Regions from separate parts of the Homo sapiens genome. Here region 2 is linked to region 1. Evidence: promoter capture Hi-C in 16 types of primary human blood cells and fetal thymus (Javierre and others, 2016). All regions are on one chromosome and are shown on one strand. The core of a region is centred on a gene start or on the middle of the fragment in contact, and the rest is flanking DNA. Distances in the headings are between cores, read along the strand shown. Region 1 holds the start of USP1 (ubiquitin specific peptidase 1). Region 2 holds the start of SELENOF (selenoprotein F).

Region 1 (2,803 bases), core at 168-2,667:
CACACTGAAACCATTTCTGAGACCCAAATCAGGAAGCACTGGAAAGCTGATCCATCTCTCCATTCTGTCTCCAACTTCACTTACTCTCCTGTCTACCTAATGCTTCTGAGGAAGCGCTGTCTTCTGAATGATAAACCAACCTGCGCTAAGTTCTCAGGGATCGCCAAGCATTAATGATTCTGATAAAAGGTTTTTCTCGAGAGCCAATTTAATGGATGACAGAAACTGGATCTCAAACCGACAGAGTAACCAGACTACACAGAAGGGAAGAATGATTAGGCAGGTGAAATAGCGGATCGTCAGCTTAATCAAAAAACCAAACCTCCTAGCCCCTCAAAGCAAAGCTCACACCGAGAATGTAACATTTTGCCAGGTGCAGTATCTTCCTTGCTATTTCTTGCTCCTGGCTTTCCTTGTAACTGGGGGGCTGTTACATCCAAAATATTTCTCCTGTAACTAAATCAACTTTCGCAGAAAGCACGACGAATCGACCATTATCTGTTGACAGCGTGAACACTCAGTCCCAATAGTTTTAAATTCTTTATAAGATGACACGACTCGATTCCGATTTTTCAACAAAAATCTACAAGGACATCTTCGCCAAGGTTTAAGACACGCGGCGTTCTAAACACTTCTTGAAAAAGTGTAAGTGAAAGAAAATGCGCGGTAAAATTTCGCAATTACCGACACAGGGCAACCTGCGTGGAAACGTTTCTTTCTCCCCATCCTTCACCGCTCTCGGGAACGGAAAGAAAGCTGGAAGGACGAGCAGCGACCAGGCTGCCCGGTCGGGGGAGGCTGGCGGCGGCGTCCTCGGCCCACACCCCCGCGCCGGGCGCCCTCGCCGCGGAGTTGGCCTATTTACGCCCAGCCCGCACCTGCCTTCTCGCGTCCCGGCGGCGGCAAGACAGGCGCCACGCCCGAGGCACACACGGCTCCCCCTGGCAGGTCGACCAGGGTGCGAGGCCAACACGGTCCCGGGGTCTCCCCGGCAGCTCCTCTCCCGCGCCGGCCGAACTTGCCCCCGCGCCCGGGAGCCGGCCCCTCCTCCCAGGCCCTCCTTACCTGGTCATGGCCCAAAGCGAAGTCCGCGGCGGTGACGCCGGCAAGTCCAACCCGAATGAGTGTGGGTGCGACAGGTGAGTCCCTGCCCCGAGCCCGCCGGGTCCCCGGCCCCAGGAAAATCTGGTCGGCTCGCCCTCCCCGCGGGGGAGTGACCATCCGCTCCCAAGAGCGGGAACCCCGACCGCCGCTCGCTCCCGTCTTGCACCAACACCAACTACATCCCGGGAGCGGCGCCCATCTGCGCCCGCCCCGGGAGAGCCAGGAGCGCAACAAGCAGCGGCCCCGCTCGCCGAACGCCTGAACCGCTAGGGTCTTTAGCACTCCGCCACCGAGGGGAACTTGGCGCGTTTTCCTCAGTCTCAGGACCCCCGTGTTTTAGCCTCCGCCCGCGCCAGCGCTGCGATTGAACGTGGCGTCCTTTGAAATTGCCGGTTCCAGTCTCCACGCTGCAGAGACACGAAAGGCAGGAGCCGTCTCGCGACGGCCACTCGCCCCTGGCACGCACGGGCTCCGGAGCCAGCTGGGACTGTAGTTCCCCAAAAGCCTAACGGGTTCCACAGTTTCAAACAACGCAGGCACAGAGCCGGGCAGCTCGTGCGGGTCCTCGCTGAGGGCGCGCGCGAGGTGCTAGCGGCCTGGCTGGCGGGCTCGAGCCTCACACCCTTTTTTTAACCATTCGTGCGCGCGAGTTGAGGGAAAAGCGTACGGGTCGGGAGACGGGACAGAGAGCAGACGGGATGGGCCACCACCTCGAGAAGGAGCCCAAATTCACCAATCCATGATGAACAATCCCCAAAACCGCGCCTCCCACCGCCCGGGGGAAGCCAATCAGAAGTACCTAGACCAAAGCCAATTAGATGGGCGGGAGCAGCAAGCCCATCTAATAGCAAAAAAGAAGAAAGGTGGGCTCCAGCCAATCATTGTTCGACATACGGAGTGTTCCTCAGGCGCGGTGCCCCTCCTTCCGCTCTCATTGGCGCTCGAGTGCGCGCTTTCGCTGCCGACTGTTAAAATCTTGTTTGGCGTTTTGTTAATCCTCGACGGTGGGACGCCGCGGAGGGTGCGGCTTCCGGAGCGAGGCCCTCGCGGTAAGCCCCGCCTCCGTTCGTGCGTACGCGCCCGGGCGGGGTTACCAAGAGAGCAGCTTCGGAAAATGGCTGCCCGGCTGGACGCCGCCGCGCTTGGGCTTTCAGTTCGGAGTCGCGGCCACACTAGGCCTAGGGCCATCCAATGAGACAAGGCGCTGCCACGGATAACAATACATGCTCAGGCGAATGCTGTAGAGCTGAGGCCCGGTCCTCAGCCCCTGCTCGCCTCATTTTCGCCTGTTTACCTCTTCCCTTTCTCGGCCGCAGGAGGAAACGAAAGAACAGTTTCAGGCCCAGCTCCGGCCGCGGGAGCTTCCCAGGGTTCCCGCGCGAGCCCTCCCAAAGGGTTCAGGAGCGGCAGGCAGGCCTCATCTGGTTGTGTGCTTCCTTTTGTGTTTGTGTGCCTGCTTTGGTGAGGTGACCTCAGCTCAAGTGCTGCAGTTAAGCAGGATACGTTCAGCCCAAATCCATTTAATCAAGTATTTTTAAGGTGCCTACTATGTGCCAGGCATTTTTCAAGGCGCGAGGGATGTAAAGGCATTCCCTGTCATAAAGGAGCATTACATTCTGGAGAGGGAGATACAAGTGACGCTAAGATAAGTGATAGATACGATAGCCTGGAAAGACCTCTTTGAGTTGACATTTGAGCA
Region 2 (2,879 bases), core at 331-2,830, about 24 Mb before region 1:
CAACTTGGGCGGCATCATAATCCTGAGGAGCCCCATGAAACCCGCTGCTCGGGATCAAGACATACCGCGGGGGGCGGGGAGCGGGACCCCGGAGGCGAGAGAGACGCCGGGAGGAGCCCGCCGAGCCGGGAGCGAGGCAAAGAGAGAGCGACAGCGAGAGAACCACCGCAGCGACCCCCCTTCTCGCCTCTCCAGTCCCCCTCCCCCAGGCGCTATCACCAACGCCGCTGGTGTCCGCTTCTCCTCAGCCGACTAAACGGCCGCCCCCTCCAAAAGCCCGCGCAGCAAACAGCGCGAAGCGGCTGCCGGGCTCTCGCCTCCCTCTACTGCCTCAGTCCCCGACCCCCGCGCCCGCCTGCTTGCCCGCCTCCCTCTCTTCCTTCCTTCCCTCCCTCCTTTGCTCGCGGCCGCGCGCCCCTCCACCGGCGCTGCGGCTGCGCCGCCCTCATCCCCGCCCCCGCCCATCCCCCTCCGCCACCACGCGCACGCATCCGCGTACGCTGCTCGGCAACCAGAAGCCCCGCCCCTCCCCCCGTTCGGGTCCGCTTATTGGACGGAAGAGCCCCTGCGCTTCGCTCTTGGTTCGGTTTACGGTTGGTTTCCTCTGCCACAGAGCTCAATCAAGACGACATTCAATTGGGTAAACTTGGAGAAGAAGGCGGGGCTAAAACTGGCGAAGGCGTGGCTTCTTGGCTGCTTGACGAAGTGTCGTGAATAAAAGAAAGGAGACCGCAGAAGTAAAGAAGTGGGGAGTTTAGGCAAGTGCCTGATTTGGGTAATCGAAAGCACCCAGTGATTGTATTTGATGACTTTTAAGCTTTCATATGCCGTTATTTAATACCTGTCACTTCCAAATGAGAGATGTAAGGGCAACGGCCGTTAGCGTTCTGTTTTGGATCAGGCTCTGGAGTGGACGCCCCTAGCTTAGGGGTCCTTCTAGGCAGCCAGAAACCTGCGGAAAATGGTAGCGATGGCGGCTGGGCCGAGTGGGTGTCTGGTGCCGGCGTTTGGGCTACGGTTGTTGTTGGCGACTGTGCTTCAAGCGGTGAGTGTAGATCACCTTCGCAGCTGCCACAGGGAGAGTAGGAGTGATTGCAGCTGAGAAAGACGCAACATTCGGTCCTGGTTGAAAAGGGTGGGGAGGACTGCGCTTCCTTAATGACTGCTGCGGCCAGAATGCAACGTGGCTTAATTTCTCGGTTGATCCTTCTCCTTCCCCGCCTTGGGTTTCTAGCAGCAGTTTTCTCTTGATTTCAGATTGTCTTGGGTACGTAGCTTCTCTTATACGGCTCTTGCTAAAAACAATCTGTAAACCACACCAGGTGGGAGGGGGGAATAATAAAGCTTGGCAAGAAGTGGAGGTTGTTTTTAAATGGACAGAAATGCAAGAGACTCATGACGAGACTTCCAACTCTTAGAGGCAAGTCTTCAAGTCGTTGGTCCAGGCGAACAGTTTGTGTTTACCTCTCTCGCGCGCGTGCTCTCTCATTTTCACTACTTCTGTTAGTCTCTTAACTTCCGTTCTCCTCTGCTATTCATATACGGCTGGCTGCGCTTGAGTGCGATTTGTGCTTTTAAACAATGTTGTTGGAGTAAAAGGAGTTATCTATACCAAAGTATAATTCATTTTTGAAGTTAGTTTTTTAAATGATGTTCGTTGTCTTCTTTAAGGCAGCGTTTTTTATTTCATTTTTCTCTATTGGCAGAATAGATGGGTGACCTTTGAATGGGAAAAGTGTACTTTTAACTTATTTCTTCTCATATCCATGTTCTGCTGTGTGAATAGTAAAATTTTAGGCACAGTGCTGAAAGCTTTTACGTTTTTTTATCCTAGCTTAATTCTTCGGGTAGTCTCTAATAAGGAGACCTGGTTTAATTTACTTATCCAAGGTTGAGGGTGTTAAGGGACTACACCGGAGTCCTCTATGAACACCTGTACTTACCTTTCTCAAAGAGCTTGAAAGCATCCTGGCTGTTTGCTTTGGCTACTTTAACCAAAAGGTAGATTCTTAACTTCTGTAATTAACATTCCAATTATCTTGTTATTCAGGCATTTGGTGCTAGGAATTACTGGATCACCTCTCCCTAAACTTTCTACTGTTTAAGGGTTTTTGCACATCTTTAGGTCATTCGAGATAACATTTCAGGTTGTCTTTTTTTGATCTCCCTCTGTCTTTGACTGTCAGTTGTCTATAGCTGTGTAACCGCCCTAAAACCTAGTAGCTTAAAACAGCAATGATTTCTCATAATTCTGGGTCAGTGGAGTAGAACTACTCCACCTATGTTGGTTTTCCCCTGGCCTCATTTATGCTTTTTGTTGACCTAGTAGGTCAGCTAAACCGAAAGGTTCCAGGATTACCACTGTTTATAGTTGGTGCTGTCAGCTCGAGGACTTGGTTCTGTTCCGTGTGACCTCTCATCCTCCAGTCGGCTAGACCAACTTCTTTTCATGGCACTCTCAGGGCAGCACTCCAAAAGAGCAAAAGCTACAATGCCTTCTAAAGCCTTGCCTTGGAAATCACATATATTACTTCCATCACATATTTCTCAAAGCAAGTCACAAGACTAGTTCACATTCAGGGATGGAGAAATAGATTTCATCTCTACATGGGAGGAATGACAGAGTCACTTTGCAAAGTGTGCATACCAGGATAGGAGGTATTTATGGAATTAACTAATTCCATATGTAATAATGATAGGAATTAATTAAACAGCGTACCACAGTGACTGTGCACAGAATCCAAACTAGAAATTTGGATGTCATGTTTGACTCCTTTCCTTACATATATCATATCCAGGGAATTACTGAAACTTACTGATTTTAATTCCTAAGTATCTCAAATCCATCCACTTATTGTTAATCACTCAGGCCATAAACA

What was found. The method cuts DNA at HindIII sites, captures the fragments that hold promoters and counts their contacts. A CHiCAGO score of 5 or more calls a contact.
Region 2: a contact is called between a fragment that was not itself captured here and the fragment with the promoter of USP1 in region 1, in 1 of 17 cell types (non-activated CD4 T cells). The highest score is 5.4, in non-activated CD4 T cells.

What each region holds. Positions count from the first base shown.
Region 1 is chr1:62,435,663-62,438,465 of GRCh38, reverse strand. USP1 (ubiquitin specific peptidase 1) reads right to left here and starts at 1,417. Exons shown (of 9, transcript NM_003368.5): 1 at 1,066-1,417. RefSeq lists a silencer at 761-820 and enhancers at 1,521-1,590, 1,415-2,182, 2,151-2,500, 2,183-2,803. The HindIII fragment of the contact is 3,360 bases long and covers 1-2,803 here.
Region 2 is chr1:86,912,194-86,915,072 of GRCh38, reverse strand. SELENOF (selenoprotein F) reads left to right here and starts at 947. Exons shown (of 5, transcript NM_004261.5): 1 at 947-1,045. The coding sequence starts at 962. HS2ST1 (heparan sulfate 2-O-sulfotransferase 1) reads right to left here and starts at 438. Exons shown (of 7, transcript NM_012262.4): 1 at 1-438. The coding sequence starts at 36. RefSeq lists enhancers at 698-817, 868-1,027, 421-1,035, 1,138-1,187, 1,036-1,650. The HindIII fragment of the contact is 468 bases long and covers 1,347-1,814 here.